Regions from separate parts of the Homo sapiens genome. Here region 2 is linked to region 1. The links are contacts of gene promoters, found by promoter capture Hi-C in human tissues and cell types (Jung and others, 2019). All regions are on one chromosome and are shown on one strand. Each heading gives the region's core, a stretch centred on a gene start or on the middle of the fragment in contact. The rest is flanking DNA. Distances are from core to core; before and after follow the strand shown.

Evidence for each region. Contacts are between HindIII fragments. The study calls those that stand out against the background at their distance.
Region 2: a contact is called between a fragment that was not itself captured here and the fragment with the promoter of TIMP3 in region 1, in 1 of the 25 tissues and cell types used here (dorsolateral prefrontal cortex).

Annotation. Positions count from the first base shown.
Region 1 is chr22:32,799,560-32,803,187 of GRCh38, reverse strand. It overlaps TIMP3 (TIMP metallopeptidase inhibitor 3), which reads right to left and starts at 1,483. Exons shown (of 5, transcript NM_000362.5): 1 at 1,066-1,483. The coding sequence starts at 1,186. All of the region lies in intron 6 of SYN3 (synapsin III), which reads left to right. The HindIII fragment of the contact is 19,598 bases long and covers 1-3,628 here.
Region 2 is chr22:33,934,464-33,937,841 of GRCh38, reverse strand. No RefSeq gene overlaps it. Among named protein-coding and RNA genes, the nearest start is that of LARGE1-AS1, 15 kb to the right of the region's middle. The HindIII fragment of the contact is 3,756 bases long and covers 1-3,203 here.

The DNA of each region.
Region 1 (3,628 bases), core at 234-2,733:
CCACCGCCCAGCCCAGCCCAGTGCACACACACACACTCTCCCAGCAGAGCCACTGGACTTGCACGCTTTATGGGCTGGAAAGGAGGAGAGAGATGTTTCCCAGATGCCACTCCACCTTTAGCCATCCAAACACAAGTGTCCCAAACACTCCCAGACAAGCCTCCCAGGATGCTCTCGGGGCCCTCCATACACACTAAGGAGTAGGAGGTCTCTTTACAGGGTCTCTCTACTCAAGACACTAAGTCCAGTCTGGAACTGTCACCGTGATGTGACCCTTGGCAGGTTTGTTCTTTTGGTGACAAATCTGTTTTCCACTACCCATTCTCCCCCTCCCCACACACATTCAAGGGGGAAAAAAATAGCCTTCCTGTGAATTTTCACAGCTATGTGGTGAGTGACCCCTCGCACCTTCTGCTGGCTATCAACACTCTCAAACACAGTGCCTCCAGGGCGTGGGTCAATGCCACAGCTTTCTCCTCATTTTCCCCCTTAAATCCACCCAAACTTGGCAGTCCCAGAAGCTCGGTTAGCGCTTGCCTGGGAAGCCTGCAGCTGGGTTGGGTCTCAGTGAAAAGAATGAATTTCATAGGCGCAGGAGATGATGCAGACTCGGAGTACTCCAAGTTTCTCCTGCAACTTTCCGTGCACATGGCGGGCAACTTTTTTTTTTTTTTTTAACTATTCAATTTCCCAGCACTTTAGTTAGCATTCCAAGTTTTGGGAACCCTTTCCCCACCCTTCTCTTCTAGCCCTTCCTCCGTTAGTAGTGAATGGGGACATTTTCCAGATGTCAAAAGGACCGGTAGGAACCTCACGACCTAAGTTAGGAAAGCAAAGGCGGCCAGGGGCTCCCTCAGCCACTGTGAGTTTCCTCTGCAGGGCATCTTCCCCTCTCAGCTATGCCAGCGCCCCCGCCCAAGGACATCGAGTTTCTCCACTCCGCCCCAACCCCGTCTGCCCCTCTCCTGGGGCAGAGGAAAGGAGTGGGGCTCGCCCTGCCTCCCTAAGCAGCGCTGCAGTCCTGGCTGCAGCGTGGGGCTCGGGCGGGGCACCAGGAGCGCTTACCGATGTCGGAGTTGCAGAAGGCGTCCTGGGGGTGGCTGGGCGAGCATGTGCACGCCTCGGCGCCCCAGTCCCCCAGGCTCCAGCTGCCCAGGAGCACGATGAGCCCGAGCCAAGGGGTCATTGCCGCTGCTGCCGCCGCTGCCGGGGCTGCTGCTCGCCTCTCCAAAGTTGCCGTGCGCGCCGCCGGCGGGGCTGCTGCAGCCCGAGCTCGCTCGCCCGCCGGGCCGTGCGGGGCAACCTTGGCCTCCGGCGCGCTGCCCTCCGAGTGCCCGGCGGGACGGGATGGGGCGCAGCGAGGCTGCCTCGGCGCTGGCGCAGGACTCGGCGGGCGGCCTCCCGGCGAAGGAGCAGGAGCTGGAGGAGCAAGAGGAGGAGGAGAAGCCGTCTGAGCGCCCGCCGCCTGCCTGCTGCCCGCTCTGCGCCGCTGCCTGGGCGGCCGAGTGATATAGCGCTGGGCCCCCGGGGACCCCGCCTCGGGCTGTTGGGGCCCGCCCCCTCAGACCAATGGCAGAGCCGCATTACCTCATCGGCCCTCCAAAAAGGGGGCGGGGCCGGGGGCAAGGGGTAACGGGGCGGGGCCGCCCCCGGATCGTTCAGATCCTTATAGGGAATAATGCCGCCGTGGGCACGCGAGTGGGTGGGCTGGGGCGCGCCCGGGACCGGTGCTTGCCGCTGGGTCCTCGGAGCGGAGCCCTCGTGCCCCTTCTCGTCTGCGCCCTGGCCCCACGCCCACCTGGGCCACTGGGTGTCTCTGACCCAAACCAGAACCAACTAACACCCACCCACCCCAGCAGGACCGCTTCCACAGGTGAGGGGTGGCCATGTCCTAGAGACCTTGACTGTGCTTGGTGGAACCAGCGGGGGAATGCTAACTGCTACCCCTCCAGTTTCTCTGGAGAGAGCAGGCACAGAGGAGAAAGACCCAAACTCTCTCTCTTTCTCTCTCTCTCTGGTTCTTACTCTCTGGGATATGGGAAGCCATCTGCTGTTTGCAGCTGGCTATGATATATGATAGAAGACTGTTTTCTGTGCTCTCCCAGAGCAAACGGGGTTCTGTATTCATTCAACAAACACGGTTCAGGATGCTGGGTTAAGCAACACAAAGCCCTTGCCCCCGTGGACATCCATGAATGCACAGGGTGATTTTCTGTGATGCTAGGGCTATGAAGAAAACAAAACAGAGTTCTGGGTTGGACATGACTGGGGAGGGCCTGCTCTCTCTGCGATAGTAAGGGAAGGGCTCCCTGAAGTGCCATCCTCGCTGAGAAGTGGACAAAGACAAGGATCAGCTCTGGGGCAAGCCACAGGAGAGAGGTACCAGGCAGGGGGAACAGCAAGTGCAAAGACCCTGGGCATGTTTGAAAGACAGAAAGTAGAAAGGCAAGAGGAAGTGGTTCCCTGCCCATGGCTGACAGAGCTCCACCCTTCAGCAAGGGATTTGGGGGTGAGCTGATCCAAAACTGTAGTAAAACCAGGAGAACGATCCAGGATCCTAGACGACTAGCTATAATAGATGATTGCAGATAACTAACACAATTACTATCCTTATTATTGACATCTTGATTCTGCTTTGTATTTTTAAAAGCAGGATTCTGTATCTCACCGTATTATAGCTCTCACAATAATCTTTGTGGGTAGGAAAAGCAAGCACAAGTATCACTCCCACTTTCCAGATGAGGAACCGGCACAGAAAGATGGGATGATTGGTGGCCAGCCAGGAACTCGTCACCCCTTTCCACTGCTCCTTCCCATCTGAAGAGAGACATGCATTTCCCTGAACGTCAGCAGCTGTTCCATCTAACTGCAAATGGCCATTTGCAGCTGGGATCTTCCATCTTTCTACACTTTTGTCTCTTTCCCTTTCTCTTCCGCTTCATCCTGTTAGAAATGCCACAAGTTTGGAACAAATAGAAACAGGGAGAAATGCAAGTTCAGCTTCTTTCTCAGAACTCCTCTGTTTACATCTCAGACAAGTGACATTGGGACAGCAGAGGCCGAAGAATTCGTGAGAGATGGTATTTCCAAGAACATTTTTGAAACTCCTTTTTCCCCTTTGAGCACTTTAGCCATAGGAAAGGGAAACCAGTTTCCACATCTTTTTGACTTGTCCCCTCCACCCAGCTTTAAAAACCTTCCCTGCCTTCACTCTAACTGTGGCCTAACTCGTAGAGATGTTTCTGTCTCTCGATGTTTTTCTAGCACTGTTTTCATTGTTTTATGGGGTATGATTCTATTGCTTCCCCAACCACAGTAGGAATACTTTGAGGCCTGGGATATTTAGCCACACTGCTTTTTAGCCCTCTCAGAACCAAATAGGGTCTCAGGAGACTGGAGAGCATGGGTGTGGCCAACAGCTGACTGAGTCCTGAGCAGAGTGCCCTGGAGGCCACTCTAAGGATCCAGGTTGAATGAGGGCATACGTGGTGGAATTTGAGAGATTCGCTTATCCCCGCGCCCCACATGACTTATTCCACAGTCATGTGGAAGGTTTTAGAAGACTTTCCAGACCAAATCCACTTTGGATAAGCATCTTACATGATAGAGGCCCTCTCTTCCCTTTCTT
Region 2 (3,378 bases), core at 76-2,575, 1.1 Mb before region 1:
GGTGGCATGCATCTGTGGTCCCAGGTACTCTGGAGGCAGAGGTGGGAGGATCACTTGAACCTGAGAGGTCGAGACTGCAGTGAGCTGTGATCATGCCACTGCACTCCAGCAGCACAACACACACACACACACAAACACACACACACACACACACGCACAAAGGAAAACAAACAAAAAAAGAAGGATATTCCAACCTTGGGTAGTCCCTTGTCCCCACAAAAATGACACACTAATACTACAGTAGTATTCTCACATGTATTATCTCCAGCATTTATAGCAATCCTTAAATTTGCTATGACTTTGTCACTTTAGAAATTAAATTAATCAAGGCTCAAAGAGATAAAGCAACTTGTATAAAGTTACACAAGCATGCAGGTGACAGAGCAGCAACTAAACCCATCAAGTTTCGATTCCCAACAAGCATTCTAAGCCAGAACGAATTCCTAACTCTTGTTATTTTCCACTATGACACACCTTTTTATTCACTGAAAGTAGTAATAAAAACACAAAACAGGCCGGGCGCGGTGGCTCACGCCTGTAATCCCAGCACTTTGGGAGACCGAGGCGGGCGGATCACCTGAGGTTAGGAGTTCAAGATCAGCCTGTTCAACATGGCGAAACCCTGTCTCTACTAAAAATACAAAAAAATTAGCCAGGCATGGTGGCGGGCACCTGTAATCCCAGCTACTCGGGAGGCTGAGGCAGGAGAATCACTTGAACCCAGGAGGCGGAGGTAGATCCCGCCACTGCACTCCAGCCTGGCGACAGAGCGAGACTCCGTCTCAAACAAAACCAAACAAAACACAAAACAAAAACCACAATGTTAACAACAGCAAACTTTTTCCTCCAAGAAAGCATGTTGTACCTATTGAAAGAATTTTCCGAAAGGAGGTATTATATAAGAACATTCCAGAAGGTGACAGACAATGTCCTCACCAAGAATTCCACAATGAACATAGAGGAGAGGTCCATTCAGTTGATTCTTGGGGCAGTAAAGCCTTCTATCTAAGCACACAGGGACTGAAGCTTCTGCTGTTTGAGCTGTGATGATCCCGAGGAAGTCCTTTAACCTCCTTGAGCTTCATCTTACTTGTCTAATAATAGAGCCATCTCCTTCATCATGATGCTGGAAAAATAAGATGCATATAAAGGACTCAGGGGGTGCAGTGTCTGACATACATTAAATGCTCAAGAAAGGTTGGCTATTATTATCCTTGGGTGACCTTTGATAAAATGTGGAGGCAGTCCACAGAGAAGCACGTCAGCTGAGGTTCTGAGGGAGGCTATAGTGATGAGGTCGAAGCCTTACATGGGTCCAAGTGGATCCTGTTCCTCTACTGGAGTTAACTCCTAGGCTGAGTTTTATTGTTTTTCCCAGAGAAAATAACATCTACCTTCCCTAATTCACAGTCATTAAGTGAGTAAAAGAAGATAATGTATTTGCCAAAAAAAAAAAAAAAAAAAAAAAAAAAGCACTGGGAAAAAAAGTTAAATGCCATCAAGTTGTAAGGTATTGTTGTCCTTGTGGTTGTTATTATTTCTGGAAAGCTTTTACTCTGGTAAATAATAAGACTTACTCTTGAAAGCCCTTTAAGTACATAGGGCCTAAATATGTGACCTAAAGGGAAAAAAAATGATTTCAGGGATTTAAATCAGTCTGGCAAAAGGAAGGTTGAACAGGGTGATTTAATTACTTTTTGTAACTGAATATTGCCTCCACATGGAGGGTGGTGACCAAATCGTCTGGTTTCTACCAAGGTCTAAAGAATAGGAAATTAATTTTTGGTGCAAGTGGAGAAGATTAAGTTAACACTGAGAATCACCTCCAGACATTCGGTTGGAAGGATTAAAGATGCCATATGTAAATGCTATCCATGTAACATTAGGGGCTTTCCAGAATGAGAAGTCAAGGTGGATGCTTGAACCAAAAAAAAGAGCCAGTGGTTTATAAAATAAGATGATAAATTGTATTCTAAAGGGAAGCTGGGATGGGCCATGAGCTCTCTAAAATGGAAGCTTGGAGCCAAGCAGCTGATAGGAAGTAGTCCCAGCAAATCCATGATTATTATTATTATTTTTGAGATGGAGTCTCGCTCTGTTGCCCAGGCTGGAGTGCAGTGGTATGATCTCGGTTCACTGCAACTTCCGCCTCCCGGGTTCAAGCGATTCTCCTGCCTCAGCCTCCCAAGTAGCTGGGACTACAGGCATGCGCCACCAAGCCCGGCTAGTTTTTGTATTTTTAGTAGAGACGGGGTTTCACCATCTTGGCCAGGCTTGTCTCGAACTCCTGACCTCGTGATCCACCCACCTTGGTCTCCCAAAGTGCTGGGATTACAGGCATGAGCCACCACGCCCAGCCAAATCCATGATTATTAAAATGCCATCCTATTCCCACTGGGAGGGAGGTAGAAGGGGATGGGGTGAGAGAGAATAGCATAAACCAATTCAGTTTTGAGTCAAAGAATCACTGACAGTTTTCAGGTAAGCTCCCTGTTGAAGACAGGGTGTTCCCAGAATAGAGTTTAAGATTAGGCTACATGAGGAGGTCAAGTCTGTATTGCAGTGAGAATTAGAGAGATGCAGTTGAGAGCATGACAAAAGTTTGAGCTGGGTTTCCTGCTCGTCCTAACAGAGGCAAAACTGGAAGACAGAGTGACAGAATATTGTTGGAGAAGGTTCCAGAACTGTGCTGACTCGGATCAGCATTAATTCATGCTAAGTGAATTAGTGAAACCCTGTCTCTACTAAAAATACAAAAATTAGTTGGACTTGGTGGTGCACGCCTGTAGTCCCAGTTGCTCAGGAGGCTGAGGCAGGAGAATCGGAAGCTCAAGGTAAATCAAGCCTGAGTTTTCAGTGGGACCACACTGCTACTTGGCAATCCATTTATTCATCTCTTTTGATTCCCCTAAATACCCTCAATAGCTGTTCATGTCCTATTGTTCTCTTCAAGACTCTCCCTCCTACTCACTAAGCTCCAGCTATACTGAACTTTGTTTAGTTGTTCAGACATGGCAAGTTCTCCTGCCTCATTGCTTTGCACATGCTATACCTCCTACCTGGAACACTTTTTAAACTCACTAATTCTCTGAATAACTCCTACTTTATTTATTTATTTTTTTGAGACAGAGTCTTGCTCTGTCGCCCAGGCTGGAGTGTAATGGCACGATCTCGGCTCACTGCAACCTCCGCCTCCCAGGTTCAAGCAATTCTCTTGTCTCAGCCTCCTGAGTAGCTGGGATTACAGGCACATGCTGCCATGCCTGGCTAATTTTTTGTATTTTAGTAGAGATGGGTTTCACTGTGTTGGCCAGGCTGGTCTCGAACCCCTGAGCTCAGGCAATCCACCTGCCTCGGCCTCCCAAAGTGCTAAGATTA